Linked DNA regions of Homo sapiens: all the other regions are linked to region 2. Evidence: promoter capture Hi-C in 16 types of primary human blood cells and fetal thymus (Javierre and others, 2016). All regions are on one chromosome and are shown on one strand. The core of a region is centred on a gene start or on the middle of the fragment in contact, and the rest is flanking DNA. Distances in the headings are between cores, read along the strand shown.

The links. Contacts are between HindIII fragments. The CHiCAGO score rates a contact against its expected background, and 5 or more counts as called.
Region 1: a contact is called between a fragment that was not itself captured here and the fragment with the promoter of RTTN in region 2, in 1 of 17 cell types (total B cells). The highest score is 7.4, in total B cells.
Region 3: a contact is called between a fragment that was not itself captured here and the fragment with the promoter of RTTN in region 2, in 1 of 17 cell types (total B cells). The highest score is 8.0, in total B cells.
Region 4: a contact is called between the fragment with the promoter of SERPINB8 here and the fragment with the promoter of RTTN in region 2, in 1 of 17 cell types (total B cells). The highest score is 25.1, in total B cells.
Region 5: a fragment that was not itself captured here is called in contact with the fragment with the promoter of RTTN in region 2 in 1 of 17 cell types (total B cells); the score reaches 5.7 in total B cells.
Region 6: a fragment that was not itself captured here is called in contact with the fragment with the promoter of RTTN in region 2 in 1 of 17 cell types (total B cells); the score reaches 5.5 in total B cells.

The regions. Positions count from the first base shown.
Region 1 is chr18:62,519,697-62,523,018 of GRCh38, reverse strand. No RefSeq gene overlaps it. Among named protein-coding and RNA genes, the nearest start is that of ZCCHC2, 1.7 kb to the left of the region's middle. RefSeq lists silencers at 1-100, 131-400, 631-740. The HindIII fragment of the contact is 493 bases long and covers 1,542-2,034 here.
Region 2 is chr18:70,203,968-70,207,487 of GRCh38, reverse strand. It overlaps RTTN (rotatin), which reads left to right and starts at 1,801. Exons shown (of 49, transcript NM_173630.4): 1 at 1,801-1,860; 2 at 2,173-2,360; 3 at 3,225-3,402. The coding sequence starts at 1,830. It overlaps LOC105372180 (a long non-coding RNA gene), which reads right to left and starts at 1,699. Exons shown (of 3, transcript XR_935599.3): 1 at 914-1,699; 2 at 394-459. RefSeq lists enhancers at 1,402-1,641, 1,104-1,733, 1,652-1,761, 1,972-2,101. The HindIII fragment of the contact is 5,232 bases long and covers 1-3,283 here.
Region 3 is chr18:63,408,992-63,412,842 of GRCh38, reverse strand. It overlaps VPS4B (vacuolar protein sorting 4 homolog B), which reads left to right. Exons shown (of 11, transcript NM_004869.4): 2 at 1,265-1,376; 3 at 2,397-2,553. Among named protein-coding and RNA genes, the nearest start is that of VPS4B, 12 kb to the left of the region's middle. The HindIII fragment of the contact is 572 bases long and covers 2,118-2,689 here.
Region 4 is chr18:63,968,304-63,971,904 of GRCh38, reverse strand. SERPINB8 (serpin family B member 8) reads right to left here and starts at 1,824. Exons shown (of 7, transcript NM_002640.4): 1 at 1,735-1,824. It overlaps LOC105372165 (a long non-coding RNA gene), which reads left to right and starts at 1,401. Exons shown (of 3, transcript XR_935576.3): 1 at 1,401-2,582. It also overlaps a transcript of HMSD not described here. RefSeq lists silencers at 1,123-1,342, 1,413-1,472, 1,483-1,682 and enhancers at 1,156-1,450, 1,743-1,912, 1,943-1,992. The HindIII fragment of the contact is 1,474 bases long and covers 1,320-2,793 here.
Region 5 is chr18:62,178,307-62,181,971 of GRCh38, reverse strand. All of the region lies in intron 1 of PIGN (phosphatidylinositol glycan anchor biosynthesis class N), which reads left to right. Among named protein-coding and RNA genes, the nearest start is that of PIGN, 6.9 kb to the left of the region's middle. The HindIII fragment of the contact is 576 bases long and covers 1,497-2,072 here.
Region 6 is chr18:63,427,376-63,431,215 of GRCh38, reverse strand. No RefSeq gene overlaps it. Among named protein-coding and RNA genes, the nearest start is that of VPS4B, 6.8 kb to the right of the region's middle. RefSeq lists an enhancer at 2,900-3,840. The HindIII fragment of the contact is 5,711 bases long and covers 1-3,840 here.

The DNA of each region.
Region 1 (3,322 bases), core at 539-3,038, 7.7 Mb after region 2:
GCCGGGCCGGGCGGAGAAGCTTGCGGGCTCCGCGCACCTCACCTCCGCCAATCAGCACCGCGAATCGACGGTGACGTCGCTCTCCCCGCCCCCTGGGGGGCCGCCTTTCTCCAGGAAGCCACGCCCAACTGCTGGCCGGCCGCCTCCCTCTCGGCGGCTTCCGTGCGGTCCTAAAGGCTGGTGCTCGGCAGGAGGAGGACGCGGGCTGGGGCCGTGGGGCGGCGTGAGGGTAGCCCGGGAGCGGTGAGGAGCGTGCGAGGCCCACGTGAGCGGAGGGACGCGGCCGCTCTCACCTTTCCTGAGGGCCCTGGCCCGGCTTTGGACTCCTGATTCTCCTCTGCTTGCCAGCTGCCGCCCCGCCTCCGCCAGTGGTGCCCGGGCTGCCTGCGCGGCCGGAGTGAACGCGTCCCGGGAGCAGGGGTTTCTCCGAAGTGAGTGCGCCAGCCCCGGGACGAGCTCGTTCGAGTCCTCACCGCCCAGTGCACTTCCTGAAAGCCGGCGGTGGGCTGTCTCCCACCTTGTGAAACTTTGCCAGGTGTCGCTCACAGGGGACTGGGTCCGGACGCGGGTGGCGGCGCTGGTTTGCGGCCCCGGTTTGCGGCCCCGGCGCCGCGATCCCGGGCCGCGCCCACGCCCAGGCTGGAGGCACCGTGCGCAGGTGGGGACGCGCGGCCGGGAGGTGCGCAGCGGGACCCGGCCGGCCGAGGGTGAGCGCTGCTGGGGACGCTCCTAGTCTGTAACGCTCTGTGAAAATTATTTCCTGGATAGTTTAGGAAAAGCCTCTCCCTTCCCCGCCCCTAAACCTCTATCTTTTGGGAATCATTGATTTGCTAAATGACATTTCGGTGCCTAACCCATTTTGAATCCTTGTTCTGCTGTGAATTTCATGTGACTGGAGGAATTTAATAAGCTACCAACTTGACAGGCTTTAAACTTAAAAAAAAAAAGTTTTGTTACGTTTTTCAGATTTAGGCTTCCAAGATGTTTACACTCGCACTGTTACTTTTTTTTTTTTTTTTTTTTTTTTTTAGCAACATAGTCCAAATTTTTAAAACTCAGCTGGATCTTTTGAGGGTTAATTAAAAGGTGGGTTAAAAAAAATCTTAAGACTTTAAATTTAGAAGTCCTACTACAGCTATGTAGTAGGAGTATGCAGAAAGATAAGAATCACATTGTAACTCTTTGCGGTGGTGCTGGAACATCTGTTGGGAGAGCATATGCTGAACTCTGTTCACCTCACAAGTTTATGTCCTAAGAGGCTCATTCACAGTTCAGTAAAAGGGTGAACTGAAGCCTGAATCAGTTTCGGGGATGAAAGGGTGAGAGGGAGAACTGTTTTCAGCACATTTGAGGTTGGCAAAATATATAAAAGTCACTCTTTCTTGTAATTTGCTAGTTCTTTACAGTCTTTAGATGTAATTTACAGCCAAGAAAACTTTATTATGAGGACTTATACGTCATTGCCCTTTTTTGCTGTCACCCTCAACTACCCTGGGATCTTCTACTCATATCTCATCTCCTGTTCCCACTTTTCTAAAGCTTAGGGTGAAATACTTAGGCAACTAGTAATAATATTAATCTTGCTAGATATTCACAGGTTCATAGTGAGCCAGCTGTCTAGATCTGGATATCTAGTGAGCAAATAAATTCTTTACCTCCGAGTTGATTTTTGTTTTATTGATCGATTGACACAGTCTTGCTCTGTCACCCAGGCTGGAGCACAGGCTCAAGCAGATCCTCCTGCCTCAGCCTCTCAAGTAGCTGGGACCACAGGCACGTGACACCACACCTGGCTAATTGTTTGTATTTTTTTGTAGAGACAGAGTCTCACCATGTTGCCCAGGCTGGCAAATTGAGTTTTATATGTGACGCAGTCAAAGGGGCATTTTCCTTGGCAATAAGAAGCCATTTGATATGAACTCTCCACAATAGTTGATGCATACATTTTATACCAGAATTCAAATTTGTAATCAATAATGATTACTTGGGTGTTTATAGCTTTGGCCAACATTAAACAATATAGTGATCAAAGCTTATACACATAAGTGACATATACCATGATTTAATGATTTTGGTTATCCATCAGCTGGACAATTTGTTGTTTATCTCCGTCTCTGCATACTGCAGCTCACAAGGAGGCCTCAATGTTTTTTCCATGTTACCATAAGTGAGAGAACACATTCAGTAAGAGTGAAAAAACGCTAGTGCTTTTGAGGGAGGGGCCCCGATGGAAGTCCCACTGTGACATGTGAGTTTTTAAGCTGGGAAAACTACCCTGATGATTCTAGTAAGACTCCCTAGAAAGGGATTCCTCTTAGCCAGCCTACCTGTTGAGAACACCTGCTCTAGATTTTCTGATTTTTTTTTGTATTCCCTGCATAATCAAATCATGTGGGCCAGATAACATTATTGTGATAGTGGTGAGTGTGTGGTTTGTATCCAAATATTTTATAAAGAAATATATCTTGTAACAAAAACCAGGACACAAAGTATTATTGTCTCTTGTCCCCAGATGATATATATATTTTTAACTTCCCATACTACACTGATGTACCTAGATGATGTTTAATGCACATTCAGTATATTGTTTTATTTGCCTTTTTAATAGTGAAAGGTGTCATTATTCATATACCATGCCATACCGTAATATAGCTGGTATTATTGTCCAAGTATTTATATGTAACCAGAAAACTGATTCCAAGTGAAGGTTTGGATGAAGGCACTAGTGACGGAGGAGGCTTTTCAACCCTCCTTTTTGCAGCTGGGTTGCTGCAAGACATTTCACCAAAACCTCAGATAACTGGGTGGTTCAGGGCAGCCTGATACACTAAAATATATCAACTATAAAAAGGATGCCCAGATACGTCCACTTCTACTTCAGATATCCTGAAACAGGCAGTCTGATTCATATCAAGAATTTGTTCCCTATGAGACCCCTCTCCCACTACACCTCCCTGTTTCCTCCATTAGAATATAAATATCTTGAAGTCACTGACCATGTTTTATTCAATGTTATGTTTTCTCATCTGGCACACAGTAGATGTTCATCCATATTTGTTGAATAAATGAATGAATGAATGAATGAACAGTGCTCCCGTAACAAAAAGTAAAGGCCAGAAACTCTTGGGTCACCTGGAACCTTGTTCCTACCTACCAGGGAAAAGAAAACATGTCTCAGCATTATCAGACTAGCCCTGAGATTCACTCCAGTTGAATTGGCTGAGGTTCTATGGCCATTCTTGATCAGTCACTGGGGCCAAGGCAGTGAATCAACTTCAGAACCATATGGGTCCCTTCCAAGGAGACCCAGGGCTGTTGGAGA
Region 2 (3,520 bases), core at 552-3,051:
GCTTAGGCATGGGCTAGTGGAATCTTGGTTTAATATCCGTATCTCTTTCCTCCTACTTTCCAATTTCCTGCTGATGCCTCCTATCGGCGGCAACCAACTGGAAGCCAGAGGGCCAGGCAGCCTGGATAGTGCAGTCTTTTTGCCTGTTCAGGTCAGTTGATGCAGAGCTGGAAGAGCTGGGAGGAACCACTAGAAGGTGGAATGGAGAATATCCAGCATGCTAGCAGCAATCTTGCCCTTCCTCTCTTCTTCCCAGAGATAATATGGCCACCTTGAATTTTGTTCTTTTCCCGAATTTGACACACTCCGTCTGGATTCTTGCCTTTGCAAATACAGGTTTCTCCTGCAGGAATTTCCTTACCCAACTTCTTTGTGTGGCAAACTCCTACTTACTCTTTAAGATCCAACTCAAATATCATCACTCTCCTATTGACACACATGAGGAGGCAGCAAGGCACTCTAAATAGAACAAAGAAACATCAGGTCAGCTCCTCAATCTGTCACTTACTAGTTAATGTGACTTTGTGTGGGGGTACTTTTGTGATTCTAAGTTTCCTCTTTGGCAAAATAGGAATGGGAATACAGTAGGCCTTTGCTGTCCACTGGTTGCACACAGAGAATTCAACACACGGGATGGAAAATATTCGGGAAAAAACCCCACAGTTGAAAATAACAATACAACAATTAAAAAATAATATGAATAAAAGTACAGTGTAACAACTATTTACATAGCATTTACAGTGTATTAGGTATTGTAAGCAATCTAGAGATGATTTAAAGCATATAGGAGGATGTGTGTAGGTTATATGCAAATACTACACCATTTTATAAAAGAGACTTAAGCATGGGTGGATTTGGGTATCTGCGGGGGTCCTGGAACCAATTACCTAGGGATACCGAGGGCCCACTTTACCTGCCTTGACATCCCTTTCCCAGGGAACGTGAAATGATCAGACCGAGAAAATGCAAATCATTTTCCAAATGTAATTTTGTTGTTGTTCTTACCGCTGCTTATAATTAAAAAAAAAATAATTTGCTCAGCTCGATCACTGTGCACGGTGCAAAAAATCAACTTTGGTACCATTCAGCAAATCATACCCCCACGTCCCGCCTTTATTTTCCTTTTTTGCAGCCCGGTTTCTCTCTTCTGCTCACTCATACCCGCCCACCCCGCTTTTGTAGCTTGCTTGTTCATATCTGAACTTGGGTATCCAAAGACACTGCTTGACTTTGCAGGTACATTTCACAGTTAAAGAGGGTTCGTCATTTAGTAGTCGGGGATGGGGAGAACTGTCACAAAGCAAAAGTCTACATTCTAAATCGTGAAGTTCTGGGAGCTGAGAATCAGATTGGCAGGGCCAAGAACGAATCCGTCGACGAGCCGGGAGGCGGGGCTCCTGCTGGGGCCTCTGCAGCCCGCGCTGGGTTCCCGAATTCCCGCGCTGTAAGCCGGAACCCCAGGCCAGCGGGCGCCGCGGCGGGCCCGGAGATCGGTGCAGGACGCACGGCCTAGCCAGAACTACAACTCCCGACGTGCGCGGCGGCCAACGCTGGTTCTATCCCTGCTTGTTGCTTTTTTTTTTCCCTCCGCTTCTTGCGACGGAGACTGCTGTCCAGGAAGTGCGCAGTAGTGATTCTAGAGAGGCTGGAAGCTCTCCTGGCGACGCTGGGGCCGCGAAGGGCTCACGTAATGACTCCTACTCCTGGTGAGCGCAGGCGTTGCGGAACTCACCGTCCCACAGGACGTGTTTCCGGGGGTACATTAATTGTGGCTGGACGCAGTGGCGCGGCAGTTTAATTCTCCGGCGGCTGCAGATTGACGGGACGAGATGGTCCTGGCAGGGCTCATCAGGAAACTCGGTAACTGTCAGCTTGCCCCTCGCCCAAGGCACCCCCCGCGCTCTGGCCACTTGCTGAGAATGGTCGTGTCACGTTTCCGCGGCCGGCCGCTCCGCGACCGCTCCCTCTTTCACCCCCGCTTTGTCAGGATAGCCCCCGGGGACCCATCTCGGACTTTGTGTAAACTTCGCGGTTCGCGTCCCGAAGGCACCAGTGGCCTGCTTCTGAAAAAAACTGGTTTATTCCGTCTTCACGCCGCTCCTGCCCACAGCATAAATAACGTAGTCTCTTTGCAGTCGGGAAATAAAATAGTTTTGTGCCGTTCGTTGACAGGTCATCAGCTGGCCGAGATCAGGGAGCGCGCTCTCAAGAGTATTCTCTGCAAGATTGAGCACAACTTAATCTGCTACGCTGATCTCATTCAGGAGAGGCAACTTTTTCTTCATTTGCTGGAATGGTTCAATTTCCCGTCCGTTCCGATGAAGGAAGAGGTTCTGAACCTGTTAAGCAGATTGGTTAAGGTAGGGTCATTTTGAAATAAAGAAAATAATCAGACGAGTGACTTGTTTCTTAGTCATTTAATTGTAGCGTTTATTGAAAGTTAAATAATTGGGGTTAAAAGTTTTTTTAATCAACCAGAGATGTTTAATTTTAATTAATCTGGGTATATGGTTCATCTTTTATTTGTGATACTGAATCCCACATGGTCTCTGCTGTGCTCAGAAGTAACACAGAACTTCTTTTGAGTTTTGGTATGTTCTGTGTTTTTGAGTTATCTTTGGAGGTTAATATTTGTATTCTGTTTTTGTTTTCTGACATTTACATCTTAAAAACTAGATATGTCAGTATGAAAGGGAGCACTTTAAAAATAATGTTACATAACCGTGATTCATAAATACCAATGTTAAGTTGCTTGCCCATATGCTTTTAGATTGGTATTCTTATGCCTACCTCAAGAGTAGTTAGTTATCGGGGTCAGATATCAAAGTGTAAGTTTAACCTTTCAAAACTAAATCACTGTACAATGGTAGAGGAATCTTAAACTACTTTGACATCCTGTTGACCGGTTGGGGCTGGGACCATAAGGTGAGTGTCAGTGGAAAAAAGTAACCCATTAAAAAAATAAGAGTAGGGATTGATAATGTGCATTTCTAGCGTTCAGTGTGTTGGCTCATCTTTCATAAATGTTATCAAGTGTTGGATGTATGTCTCTATAGGTGTATGTGCTCCTCATGGAAGTGCCTTACTTCGGGGCAGAGCCATGAAGGATTTGTTTTTCAGAAAAGGAACATCTGATATACCAAAAATAATTTTATGTTTTGATTGCTGTAAGTTATAGAGATTTTGATACAGTTATTCTCAAGATCATCCTCTTCTTATTTTAGTATCCCCCAGCAGTCCAACATTTGGTTGACGTTGGTGCAGTAGAGTTCTTATCTAAGCTTCGGTCTAATGTGGAGCCAAATCTGCAGGCTGAAATTGATGGCATTCTGGATGGACTTTTTCTTCTTCCTTCGGAAGTTCCTGCACTATCTTCTGCCTCATACCAAACCAATCAAACTGGTAACTCTTTGGAATCTGTTAAATACAAATATATTAATTCTAATGGTAAATTTTAAGGAAAGGGAGATTAGATTTTTTTAAAAAGGATTTCTCCCACCTCCCCCAAACTTATTTTTCT
Region 3 (3,851 bases), core at 1,154-3,653, 6.8 Mb after region 2:
TTTTTCTAAAAGTTTTAGCTGGGTGCGGTGGTGTGGACTTGTGATCCTGCTATTTGGGGAGGCTGATGCAGGATGATCACCTGAGCCCAGGAGTTTGAGGCTAGCTTGGTCGACATAGTGAGATGGAGCCCCGTCTCAACAAATAAATAAGAATCAAAGTTTTGTAGTTTTACATTTAATTCTATGATCCATTTTTGAGTTAATTTTTGTAGGAAGTATTAAGTTTAAGTCAGAATTCTTTTAGGTGTATGCTTATGGATGTCTAGTTCCTCTAGCACCACTTCTTAAAAAGCCTGACTCGGTGCCATTGACTGGCTTTTTGCATCATTTTCAAAAATCTCTTGGCTTTATTAGTATGGATTTATTTCTGGGACTTTTTAAAAAAATGCCACAAAAGTAGTCCATGTTCCTTATGGACATTTTTTAGAAGATGTGAAAAAGTAGAAAATGAAAAATATATGTTTTATCAAAGATAAACTCTGTTTAACAATTTCCTTCCCATCTTTTTCCTGTGCTGCTTTTTTCTGCTGTTGTTTCAAATAAATTCCTGCTACATATAAAAAGTTGTGTCCTGCTTTTTAAAAATGCCCATTATTAACACTTTCCATATTATTACAAATATTTCTTAATGTTATTTTAGTGATCCTTTGGTGTTCTGTTTTGTGGCATCCTTTATGATTTAAGTTTCCAGGTTTTGTTTTTGTTATTTAAAAGACCTCTCTGATAATATCTGTGCTCAGTAAACCTTTTAGTTAATTACTGGATTGAAATATATGAGTATTTTTCAGATTCTTGATATTTCATTGCCCCATTGCTTCTGAAGAGGTTTCACCCCATTTACATTTCCACTATTGTTATATCTTTTAGATTAAAGCAGCATTTAATTTTTGAGAATTTCTCTAAATGCTTGTTTAGTTTGAATTTTCACATTCTATTATTTCTTATTAGCCCTAAATTTAACTTTAGCTAAGTGAAAATTACATGTAAATGTTAGCGATTGGTACTAAAGTAACATTCAGTAGCATTTATTCCTATAACATGTAATTTGCATCTTTTCAACTTGTAATTTATAATAAAATACAGTTGTGAGTTAGAAAAAAATGATTTTTTAGTTACTGTTTATTTTTTACTTATTTTTGTTTTCTTTCACAGCCCAGCAAGCTGAGAAGCTTTAAAAAAAAAAAAAACTTTCAGTATGATTATTTACTTCAAATTTATGTTTATGCTTTGATTTAAATGTTGTTATTTTGCCTCCCTCAAACAGAAAGCGATAGATCTGGCTAGCAAAGCAGCGCAAGAAGACAAGGCTGGGAACTACGAAGAAGCCCTTCAGCTCTATCAGCATGCTGTGCAGTATTTTCTTCATGTCGTTAAATGTGAGGCCATAGGTTATATTTTATTTAAAAACACGAAAAGGAAAATTTATTCTGTTTCATTTCTAAAAAATTGAAATATAATGCCAGACAATTCTAAACGATCCATTTGTTAAAAAAAAAAAATACTCCACTTTCTTTCTAGTGATTTTTAAGTATTGAGATGTAGCTAGCAAATGTGACAGCCATCATAGTTATTACTTTGTATATGTAAACATCTTAAAATGTAGTCTAGTCAGTGGAAAATAGGTTAGGAGACATTCTATTTGTGTCTTTACAGATATGTATTGCGTGTGTACCACGTGGCAGGCACTGGGGATACAATGGAAAGAAATGGTTAAGACCCCTGCCCTCATAGCTCTTAAATGGAATGCAGTTAGATGATTGAAGATGTTCTTTTGAGCTTCTCCCATTTAGTTCTGAGGTTTTATGTTAAAGTGAGACTAAGAATGAGTCATAACCTGTAAGCTATGTGGGGCTCATCCCATCTATTGCACGTGTTGCCAAAGTTCACTTTGAAAACAGCTCTGACAGAGGCCTTTGTGTAGTAAAATTTACGATGTTGGTATTACACAGAATATATGGGATTTCCATCACTTTACTCTTCTGAAATAAAGCTTTTGTAGACATTCATAGAAATGATTAATACTGCTTTCCTTCTATTTGTCTTTTTTATAATTGGGTTTGTCTAAGACAAGCAACTTTGAACTATCTGCAAAAATGTAAGGGAAAAATATGAAAGCTTCAGAATATTAAATAATTTCCTGTTAGTTAACATTAACTTAATATACCCTGCTGTCTTGCTTAGGTTGTTTCTGATTCAGACCCACTGTTGGTCTCCAACCCTGCTGGAGGAAGGGGTAGAAAAGAGGTGATAATCATTGGCTATGATGAGTTAGAGATGATCTTCCCTCCTTCTTCCAACATAGAATTTCCTTGTCTGAAAAAATACATATTTAAGAGTTCAAACCTTTCTACATAGAATACTAATGGAAAAAAATCTCTCTCATTTCCCTTTAATAGATGAAGCACAGGGTGATAAAGCCAAGCAAAGTATCAGGGCAAAGTGTACAGAATATCTTGATAGAGCAGAAAAACTAAAGGAGTACCTGAAAAATAAAGAGAAAAAAGCACAGAAGCCAGTGAAAGAAGGACAGCCGAGTCCAGCAGATGAGAAGGGGTACGTGTTTAAAATTGTTCAATTTTATTGTGGCTTTTTGCTTTCGATTTGTGAAATTTCTTTTGATTAAAACAGGTGTCAGCAAACTATGGCTCATGGGCCAAAGCTGCCCAGCTGCCTGTTTTTGGAATAAGCTTTATCAGAACACAGCCGTGCCCATTCTTTTACATATTGTTGTCTAGGGCTGCTTTCGTGCCGTAACAACAAAGTTGTGTGGTTGTGTGGAGACCGTATGGCCCACGAAACCTAAAATATTTACTTGTTTGGTCCTTTACAAAAAAAAGTTTGCTGACCCCTAGTTTGCCAAGTTGAATGGATAATATTCCTCAAACAACCCTTCCTGACTGCCTGCTAGTAGGAGGAGAGAATGCTTGTAGGAATAGTACTCAGTTACTCTCTGGCCATTAGCTAATATGGAAGCTTAAGGTTATAGGAGTGACCAGAGAGTTAAACCTTTGACCACATGGAAAAAATGAAAAGTAACTCCAACAATGTAAATTTTTTTTGGATATCTTATGCAAAATTTTTTGATGTGAATTTGTGTTAGATTTGCTTTATGTTGTCATTGTAAAGAAAACAACACAGCATAACTTATAAACGTTGAAACTGATTTTTGGCATGTCTTCCTAGATGGGGGATGTATCACTTCTAGATGCAGAATTTGTTTATTCAGTACATGACATATGCGTGCCAAGTTTGTGCTCAGCACTGGGAACATATTCTAACCACATCCTCTCTGGCTGTCCTATTAATTGATGCCAGTAGTTCCAGGTAACACACCCTTAAGAAAATGAGACTCTGGGATGGAGTTATCTGGCCTGCTTGGGTTTGAAAACAGCGAGATTCTGCTCAGCTTTAGAGGATGTGGTTCTCATTGTTCATGGTATGCAGTGGCGCAGGTTATTTAGACAATACCCTGTGGTCACAAGGAATGAAGTGCCTTTTAGGCAGTGCTTTGGGGCTTCGTGGCTGCTACCACAGACCATTTGGAAGTACATGAGGAATATAAGAACCAGTGTTGACTTGGCTGCTTCAAACTATGTGGCAGAGTTTGAAGGAAATGATAAGCTTAAGCTCAAGGTTTTATATTCTCTGTTCAAGATGTGATCGGGGAACCAGGGAGTTTCTGTGACACCCTAAGAACATGTTATCTTCTTCATCGATAGCACTGACTTAACAAAAATCAGATGATAGTCTGATCTTACAAATTACTGAATTCCAACTTAGGGTTTCTTATATGAAAGTGAGGACATTTGGTATAAAACAGGGACTCCAAACATGAAGTGAAAATATTGGGA
Region 4 (3,601 bases), core at 575-3,074, 6.2 Mb after region 2:
GAAGACAAAGGGCATGGTTTGTGTGGTGCCCCTGGGGTGGGTTTCTATGGTTTCCTGTGAGCCACGTGGTAGTGAGATAGGACGGACCCTTATGCCACATTTAGGAGTTTGAACTTGAGATTATGGTCTGGAAAGCCATGCATGGTTTTTAAACAAACGTCTCATATGAGTGCATTGGGGCTTTAGAAAGATAACCCGGCTCAGTATTTGGTATGAAAAGAGGCTGGGGAGCTGGCGCGTAGGCCACCACCATGGGCCAGGGACTGCTGAAAGCAGAGGGATTGTCTGCAATAGAGAAGTGGGGGCTGGAATTGCCAGGCAGTGACTGCTCACATAGGGACAGAGCACAGGAGGGCCCAGTCCCGAGGCGCCTAGCTGTTATAAATTCATACTCAGGGTGGGTCGTGAACCACTGGAATTTTAAATGAGGAGTCAGGCTGGAATGGGGAATATGACTTGTTCCATTTGAGATGCGTGGAACACACCATACCAGGTGAACCTGTAACAAAGACAGCCAAGGATGTTTGTAAACAGTTAGGGACGGGGATGAGTAGACTGTCTAGAGCCAGAGACCTGGAGCCATCAGCATCCCGATTCCGAGAGGTTCCATGAGAATGGATGAAACTACACAGAACATCTAGTGGAGGCACAAGGGAAGAAATCCACCTATTTCTGTGGAATTTCCAATATCTGGAGGTAGTAAAAGGAAGAGACAGAGGAGGGCGAGGGGAGAGCGCGCGCGCGAAACGGAGACTGAGACCCAGCCATCAGGGTGTGCTGGGAGAACTGGGGAGACGAGTCTGCCCCTGCGAGTGGACCCAGGGAAGAGGGCGCGGTCTACGCAGAGCCCGAGGCAGGGAAGCGGGAGGGGCCCGGAGAGCAGCCCTGGGTGAGGCCCTTTGGAATGGAGAGGTCTCAGGAGTGAAGCAGCAGCCAGAGGACTGAGAGTGTCTGGAAAGTGAGGAATTGGTTAAAGTAACGCCGGTGGCTGCAACAGAGAGGGGCGTAGGTGAAGAAGCACCCCCAACCCCATCCCATTTGAGAGGAAGCAGACAATGAAGAAGAGAATATGAAAGATACAGAAAGATGAAGGCAGGGGTGGAAAGAACGGAGGGGGGGGACAGGAAGGGAAGGAGAAGGTGCAACCAATAGGCTGTAAGCACAGGGGCAAGCTTGGGCGCCAGGGGAGCAGGGACTCGGCGCCTCCCCGATCTGCCCCAGGCGCCACGGAAATTCCAGGCCCCGCCACCCGCACTCCCGGAGCCTCCTCCGCAGCGGCGGCTCCTCCCACTCGCCCTCCCGGGGCTCCCGCCCAAGCTTCCGGCGCTTCCAAACTCACTGCTCGCGTCACCCCCCGCTCCCATCCGGCAGCAAATCACAGCGCAGCAAATCGCAAGCCTAGAAACAGACGCTCCCTCTCCAGGGGCAGCTTCCTATTCAGGGCGGGTCTGGGCGCACCTGTTCTCGGGACCCGGCCCTCGGCCTTCGCCGGGTCTCGCGGTGGGGCTTGGGACCCCGGCTGGTGCCAGGGCGACCCCCACAGCCCCGCGACTCTCTTTCCCGGCCGCCTCCCGCCGTCATTCTCCTAGTTCCTGCCCGCCTTTGCCTCGCTCTGATTCCTGCTCTGGCCTTCCTCCCTTCCCCTCTCTCACGCACTCCAGGGAAGAGGTGGCCTCCGCGGGAACCTGGGCACCTCCGTGCCTGCCCCGCCCGGTACCTGGCAGAGGCCCCCACCTCCTGCTGCTGCTGCTGCTGCCGCCGCCGCCGCCGCCGCTGCTGCTTTGACTATTCCTCCTTTGTAGATGCTTCACGTCCGCCTTGATTGAGGGCAAGGCTTCCGGCAGATGACTCAGAACCGTTCGATTGCTCTGGCTTGTGCAATCCCTGATTCTTTGGGCCTGTGTGGATGTCTGTGGGCACCGGAGAGAGGGCCAGTGCCTGGTCCTTGGAGGGTGGTTTTTATAAAAAGTGTACACATTGGCTATTGTCCTTTTTTCACCGTTGATTCACGTTTGACTCCACTGTAGTTAGACGTCCACCCAAACATTCTCTGAAATTGCTCCTGATAAGGATACTAATCATTTTCTAATTGCCTTGGCCAAAAAATACATCCCAGGTCTTATTTCATTTTGTTTGTTGGCGACATTTAGCCCTTTCTTCTTTGACCTTCCCAGGATTTCCAGAGCACCCTTCCCTTCTTTCCTGACTCCTTTGCTTGGTATCCTGATTCCTTTCCTACCATTCTAAGCCCTCTTCTTTTCATTATAATATGATCTTCTTGTATGACCTCCACTATATCCATAGGTTCATGTTTCAACTTTTAACTTATTTCTTCAAAATCTCTAACCTGTCTCGAGCCGTAGATGTTACCTGTGTACTACTGGACATCTCTCAGAAACCTGGGTGTGTCCCTCCGCAGTTCTTTTAACTAAATGATCAACAGTCCTGTTACTTCTATCACTTTTGTGTTCCTCCTGTCCATACTCTGTCACCTCTATCATGTCTCATGTCTCTCCTAAACAATTAATTTTCCTACCTACAGTTCTGATCCATGCCAACCTATTGCCTACTCTGAAGTTCAGGTAAACATTCCAATTCTAATTATTTTATACCTCAGTTTAAAATCCTTTATAACATCCTCTTATCCAAAAAGATAAATTAGAAACTATTGAGCAAGGAGTGTAAGCCTCTTCACGTCTTGATTTCTCCCTTCTTTTCTTTAGAGCCATAGCAAATTATTTACATTCCTTCATATCCTCTGTTCATATACATGGGGTTCCTGGCATGCAAGCTTGTCTTTCAAAATTCAGTTCAAATAATGTCTCCTGCAGGAAGCTCTCACAGAGCTCTCCAGTTTGGGAATTCTGCTTTTAAAGATGCACATTCCCACTCTGCACCCCAAACCAATTAAGTAAAGATCTCTTGGAGGAGGGAACCCAGCAGCAGTATTTTGTAAAACTCGCTCAGTGATTTCCCTGTGGAATCCTAAAAGTAACTGTTCCCAAGAACTCTCCTCAATAAGTCTTGGTGCAGGATTCACCCCCATCTTTTCTCCATGACTTTGAAACCCCTCTCTCTAGTGGCTACAGACTCACATTTGAACTGTGCCCAAACTTACCGGCTCTGCCAGTTGAAAATGCCAAGGTCACTTCCCCATTGTGCATCAATTTCTCCTTGTTGGTCAGAACTAGATCCAGACTTTGGGCCCCACTTTGTCCATCCACTCCTTTTCCTCTTTGACCAGCAAAACAGATTAAAAGATGAAAAATGCTTGTTTTCCTCCGTGAAACTTCCAGCAAATGCCTGGTGGTTTGAAGTCCTTTACAAAGGATATAATTTGGCCCCTGGGAGTTTGGTTGTAAACACAGATATCCCATGTAGGAAACACAGTGCGTGCAGGTGCAAAGAGGCACAAGATAGCACCATGAAAACCATGACGTATCCAGGCCTGCAGTGGTACAGATAGTGTGGATGAGGCACTGCAAGACAACGTCTGATGTGTCCACAGGGCCATGTCGTGAAGGCCATGTGGACGCTGTTGGTGGTGTTTCTTCGTTCCCTTGTGGACTATGGGGAAACACAAAAGGATTTTAAGCTGGGG
Region 5 (3,665 bases), core at 535-3,034, 8.0 Mb after region 2:
GGTGGATCACCTGAGGTCAGGAGTTTGAGACCAGCCTGGCCAACATGGTGAAACCCTGTCTCTACTAAAAATACAAAATTACCTGGGCATGATGCTGTGTGCCTGTAATCCCAGCTACTTGGGAGGCTGAGGCAGGAGAATTGCTTGAACCCGGGAGGTGGAGGTTGCAGTGAGCCGAGATCGCGCCACTGCACTCCAGCCTGGGCGATAGATAGGGCGAGACTCTGTCTAAAAAGAAATAAAAATAAAAAGGAGAAGGCGACTGGGCCCAGCAACTCACACCTGTAATCCCAGCACTTTAGGAGGCCGAGGTGAGTAGATGACTTGAGCCCAGGAGTTCAAGACCAGCCTGGGCAACATGGCAAGACCCCCGCTCTACAAAAAATACAAAAATTAGCTGAATGTGGTAAACATGCACCTGTGGTCCCCGCTACTTGGGAAGCTGAGGTGGGAGGATGACTTAGCCCAGGAAGCTTAGGTTGCTTAGAAAATGAAGACTAAAAAATAGCTATTAGATTTTGCACTGTTAACTGTCTTTACTTTCTTATGAAGTAATGACAATAAGGTTTAAGTTGTTTGAGATTTAGGTGGTCAGGAAAAAAAAGAGGTCACATTCAGCCTTTTCAAGAAGTTTGACTGTGTTGGGGAGAAAAGGGCAATAGATGTTTAAAATTTTTTTTATTAATACTGATATTTATGAGATGTATCCTTTTCAGAAATATGGTATTTCATTATGAATAAACAATTTATCTGTTCCCTATGGTTAGATATTGTTTCCAATTTTTTATTATTACAAATAGCAAAAGCCAAGATTTGAATGTAAAGGTTTAAAACCTTTTTCTTTCTGATGTGTAATTTTATCATAGTAAATTCTACACTAGTAGCAGTACTAATACTTGTGAGCTGGTTAAAAACATAAGCTGATGTCTACCTCACACCATATACAAATAATTATTTTTGTTTCAGAGGACACAAACCAACACAAATAAATTTTAAATAATGAAAGGTAAAAAACAAAAATCTAAAACTATTAGAAGAATATATGTGACATAAGAACCAGGAAAGTTTTCTTCTATAGTACAAGACACAAAAAACTCACACCAGAAAGGATAAATGTTTGACAAATTTTACTGTATTAAAGTTGAAAAATTTATTTTAACAAAAGGCCCTATGAACAACATTTATATATAAATGTGTATATCTAGCTATGTATAAACATACACACACTATATAAACATACACACACATATAATTGTAATGTACAAGTCAAATAAAAGGTCAATAACCCTAATCCTATCTGATCAAAGGATATGAATAGGCAGTTGAAAGGAAGAGAGACCCAATTGGCCAATAAAAACATGAAAAAATTTTCATACTCACTAGTAATCAGGCAAATACATATTCAAATAACAGGATGCCAATTTGGCCTGTTCAAATTGTCTTAAGGTAAATATGACAGTATCAAGCAATTAGGGGGATTTAGAGATATAGAAGCTTTCGTACATTGCTGGAGAGTATGTAAATTAGTATGGACACTTTGCCAGTCACTTGTAAAGTTGAAAATTTTGTTTATTAGAGCAATTCCACTTATAGAGGTGGCTTTCAATCTTATTGGTCCATAGAATAATTTAAAATAAAACTTTCAGTACAGGTTATGTACATGCAAGAATATTGATGCGTGGATACACAGGAAAAAAACACACTTTTTCAAAATAATCATGTACTACTTCTGAAGTACTTTGTGATGTGATATATTCTATATTTTATCCAATCCTATTGTACTGTATTCTATTTCATTTTTTAAAAAAAGGAAAGAAGGCTAATTGCAGTCCATGAAATTATTTTGTTATGGGTCACTACTCTACAGTTTGTAAAAATTCTAAAAATCTCCACCTTTACCATAAGAGAGCAGCTTAATTGCCATATTATTTGTAATCATGACAACTGCGAGTGATGTTGATCAGCAGGATAGTGTTCAATTAAATTGTAATAGAGTCATATAATAGAATATAGGTCTTGAATGTTTGAGATCATTTATAAGGCTTTTTTGGTAGTACTGATTAGAATAAGCTTATAAAAGAAATAATGGCTTTGCATCTATACTGGTAAAAATTAATTTCAAGTAAGGTGGGGAAAGCAGGAGTGGAAATGATGATGATTATAATATTAATGTAATCTTGTAGAATGACAGATGGCTTTTATTTATGTATGTATTTATTTATTTTGAGACAGGGTCTCACTTTGTCACCCAGGCTGGAGTGCAGTGGCGTGATCTCAGCTCACTGGCAGCCTCGATCTCCGGGGTTCAAGCAATCCTCCTGCCTCAGCCCCACAAGTAGCTGGGACTACAGGCATGTGCCACCATGCCTGACTAATTTTTTTGCATTTTTTGTAGAGATGGGGTTTCACCACATTGCCCAGGCTGGTCTCAAACTCCTGAGCTCAAGTGATCCACCTGCCTTGGCCTCATAAAGTGCTAGGATTACAGGTGTGAGCCATCAGGCCTGACCGACAGATGGCTTTTAATTACACAATTGACTGGGTTTAACATATATACTCTTCATACAGAAGAACATCAATTTATGTAGGTGCCTCGTCATCTCAGGAGGTGGAGTGTAACTCCTCACTCTTTAAGTGTTGGCTGCACGTAGTGACTTCCTACCAAAAACTATAGTATGAAATGGGGGAACATTTACATGGAGAAACTTTACAGTGAACTTTACAGAGGACAAACTGAACAAACCGCCTCAGCCAAGTGGTCAAGTTTTATATTAACAGTTTAGTAAGTCATGTTGACAGTACCCTTAATGTGATGTGAAGAAAATGGTACTTTATGTATGTATGTTTCCTCTCCTGAACCCATAACCCCAGACTTACCATGAGAAAAACATCAGATAAATCCCAATAGCAAGACATTATACAAAATCTCTGACCAGTACTCCTCAAAACTCACAAGGTCATCAAAACAAGCAAAGTCTGAGAAATTATCACAGCCAAGAGAAGCCTAAGGAGATATGGTGACTAGCTGCCCTGTGGTATCCTGGTAGAGTTTCTGGAACAGAAAAAGGATGTGAGATACAGATAAAAGATTTTGAACTCAAGTGGGCAGGAATCATCTAAAGAACTAATAACCTCTAGTCTACTTGCCATGAGAAAATTTGAAAATTAGTTCTCATATGGGATTTTGTAAAGTCACATAGAGTTTACAATTAAAAATGACATAAATCTTGATGAAAAAATATATACCCCAGAATAATAAGCAAATGAACTAGTGCTAATTATATGGCTTAATAGTTTATCTGATAATCTTGTGTGCAGGCTCCAAGTACTATCTTACAGTTTTTCTTTCCTCTTCTTCTTTTTTTTTTTTTAAGTGGGTCTTGCTATGTTCCCAGGCTAGCCTTGAATTCCTAGGCTCAAGCAATCCTCTCGCCTCACCCTCCTAAGTAGCTGGGACTACCAGCTCTGTCTTACAGTTTTGGCTGGTTTTACTTCACATCGTAGGTTTGTGTATTTTTAGTAAATGTTGAAGTGGTTAAGAACACAATCTCTAGGTGACATTACCGAAAATGGCAGAGTACGGTGGTTTATTATAAGGGTTAGTTCCTCCACTGAAACAAGCATAAGGGGGCAGAGTGACAGGATCAACTGTTTTGGGATTCTAA
Region 6 (3,840 bases), core at 690-3,189, 6.8 Mb after region 2:
AGTTGTCTTAGTCTTATAAAATGTAAATTACATATTCACATCTATATAGCACCAACAAAAATTTTATAGTTGCTTGTGAGCATAGCATTTAGAATATGAAATCTTACACATTTCTCTTATGTTAAGAGCAGAATATTAATTTTTCCTATCTCCTTTATAGAGATGTGTTCTGAAATATTACTGTAGCAGATACACCCCAGTAAGTCATACCTCTGTGTAATTTCCTTCTCCTTGAGTGCAGGCAGAACCCGTGACTTGCTTCAAACCAATAGAATATGGCAAAGGTGAAAGGATTTTGTAGATGTAATTAAGGCACCTAAGTAGTTGATTTTGAATTCATCAAAAGGATGATTATCCTCAGTGAGTCCTACCTAGTCAGGTGAGCCCTTTAAAGAGGGTATGAGCTTTCCCTAAAGTAAGAGACTTGAAGCAGCAGAAACTCTGCGTGTGTGTGCATGTGTGTGCGTGTGTGTGTGTGTGTGTGTGTGTGTGTGTGTGGCTTTCAAGAAGCAGGTTATCAGCTGTCATGAATTCTACAGCTCCAGGGAAATGAATTCTGACAACAATCATAGGCAGTTGGAAGCATATCCATCCCTAGTTGAGCCTACTGATGAAAATGCATCCCAGCCTACACCTTGATCTCAGCCTTGTGAGACCTTGAGCACACAACATAGCTAAGCTGGGCCTGGCTTCTCGATCCACAGAAACTGTGAGACAATAAAAGTATGTCGTTTTAAGCCACTGAGTTTGTGCTAATTTGTTATGCAGTAATAGAAAACTAATATAATCATATTTCATGTGTTAAATGATTCTTCATAAGACACTAGAAGGATTTTCTTTAAACTTTGGGAGAATATAAGGATGTCTATTCTTGACACTTTTAACTTTGTATGGGAAAGAGGCAAAGGTATCATTGTTTGCAGAAGTTTTCATCATTTGCCTAGAAACCCTCAGAGAACAGGTAGATGATCTATTAGAAACAAAGTGTCTGCCAAAATCAACCTGCATATATTCATGGTCTCCTGTATATAAACCATAATCTGCTAGAAAATATGGGAAGAAAATATATTACTTGTGATAGCAACAATAGCACAGTGAAATTCCTAGAGATAAATCCAAATCAAATGTTCAGAAACCATGTGAAGAAAAATATAAAACACTGCTAAGAAGCATACAAGAAACCGGGTGCCATGACTCATGCCTATAATCCCAGCACTTTGGGAGGCTGAGGTGGGCAGATCAGGAGGTCAGGAGTTCAAGACCAGCCTCACCAACATGGTGAAACCCCGTCTCTATTAAAAATACAAAAATTAGCCAGGAATGGTGGTGCATGCCTGTAGTCCCAGCTATTCAGGAGGCTGAGGTAGGAGAATAGCTTGAACCAGGGAGGTGGAGGTTGCAGTGAGCCAAGATCACCCCACTGCACTCCAGCCTGGGTGACAGAGCGAGACCTGTCAAAAAAAAAAGCATACAAGAAGACTTGAAGAAAGACGTATCATGATTTTTAAACCTGAGGGAAACTCATTTCTATAACGATGTGTCCATCTACTCTGAATTAATATATCAATTCAATTACAAAATAAATAAATGTTTTAGGTGGAATTTGACAAATAATACTAAAATTCATGTGGAAAAGTAATGTAAGAAAAATCTGAACTATTCTGAAAATTTTTGATAGCAAACATTTAATGAGTGTTAACTATGTTTTGAGCCCAATTCTGTGATGTTCTAATCTCATTTAATTCTCATGTAGCCCCAGTAGACAGAGAGTAATACCACCCCCATTTTACAGATGCAGAAACAGCAGTTTAGAGAGATTGAGTAATTGCCTACTATGTGCTAGAGTCAAGATTCTGAAGGTGGCGTGGTGGCTCATGCCTGTAATCCCAGTACTCTGGGAGGCTGAAGCAGACAGATCACCTGAGGTCAGGATTTCGAGAACAGCCTGGTCAACATGGTGAAGCCCCGTCTCTACTAAAAATACAATATATTAGCTGGGCGTGGTGGCGGGCACCTGTAGTCTCAGCTACTTGGGAGGCTGAGGCAGGAGAATCGCTTGAACCCAGGAGGCAGAGGTTGCAGTGAGCTGAGATCGCATCATTACACTCCAGCCTGGGCAACAAGAGCAAAACTCCATCTCAAAAAATAAAAAATAAAAATTGAAGCAAGCATTCTGATATCAGAAACTGAGCCCTTAACTAGTGTTGCATTCTGCTTAGAAGAAATTGGGCAGTCTCACAAGATACTGAAATGTATTATAAAGCCATTGTAATAAGTTTTGTTGGAGTAAGAATAGGTGGTTAAAAGGAATAGTTAAAACATCATCAAGAATTCAGACAAATCCTTGTGAGAAAATGGTACACAATAAGGGCTGCCCTTTCAAATGAGTGAAGAAAAGATGAATGTTAACTAAATAATATTGGAACAATTGGCTACTCATTTGGAATAAATAAAACACCAAAATAAATTCCAGACAAGTCAAAGATTTAGATGCAATAGTGAAACCCTGAACACACTGGAAGAAGATAAAGGTATGATGTTGTTGTTTTAAATAATCTACTAGTGGGTAAGCTCTTTCTCAACACAGCAAAAAAGAAAAAGAATAATAAATTTTCATGCCAAAAAAGTAATGACCCAAATACTAACAGGTAAAATATGTGCAACACATACAACAGAAGAATACCTTGTTTTATATGCTTTTATAAAGCATATAAATCCATAAATCCACATCCACAGACTCAACCAACTGCAGGTGAAAATATGAGTAAAAAGAAGGCCAGGCACGATGGCTCATGCCTGTAATCCCAGCACTCTGGGAAGCTGAGGCGGGCTGATCACAAGGTCAGGAGTTCGAGACCAGCCTGGCCAATATGGTGAAACCCCGTCTCTACTAAAAAATACAAAAATTAGCTGGGTGTGGTGGTTTGCACCTGTAGTCCCAGCTACTCGGGAGTCTGAGGCAGGAGAATCGCTTGAACCCGGGAAGCAGAGGTTGCAGTGAGCCAAGATCTCGCCACTGCACTGCAGCCTGAGCGACAGAGCAAGACTCTGTCTCAAAAAATAAAAAATAAAATAAAATAAAATAAAAACAAGATGGGCCAGGCACAGTGGCTCACGCCTGTAATCCCCAGCACTTTGGGAGGCCGAGGTGGGCGGATCACCTGAGGTAAGAAGTTCGAGACCAGCCTGGCCAATATGGTGAAACCCCATCTCTACTAAAAACACAAAATTACCAGGGTGCAGCTAAAAAAACTTCTTTCTTCTGTTTTTTTATTCTAGCCTGCAAACTTCTTGAGGGCAGACCCGTCGTCTTTTCTTCTGTGCTAATGCCTTATGTCATGTTCACCCTTATATGACTAGCAATGAGGAATTGCTGCTTCATCCCCACGCCCTCCATCACATGGCTGAATGAATGACATTGATGGGTTGATTCCCACACCTCCTTATCAGTCCACAAGCTGGCTGTGGCTTCATATGAATAAAATGAATAGCAATAAGTGAGAAAGGGCTGGGCCTTCAAGGTAGCTGAGCACATTCAGAAAGGAATGTAACCTGATGGGCTCAACCAGCTTCCTGCCTGACAACTGCCTGAGTCACTTTCATGGGACTCATATGTTTCGGGTCAGGGAGGAAGCTGAAAACTCAACAAGTAGAGACTTGACTTCTGGGTGCACATGAGGGGACGACCTTAATATTAATATTATGCATGTCCTTTAACATGGTCTGAGTGAAATGAATTCAGTCCTGGGTGGTCTGCATGTGAGATCCTATCGAAGGCTGAATACACAAACACCACCTGCCACCCCACTGACCTTCCTAGTTTCTGAAGTCCTTGATCAC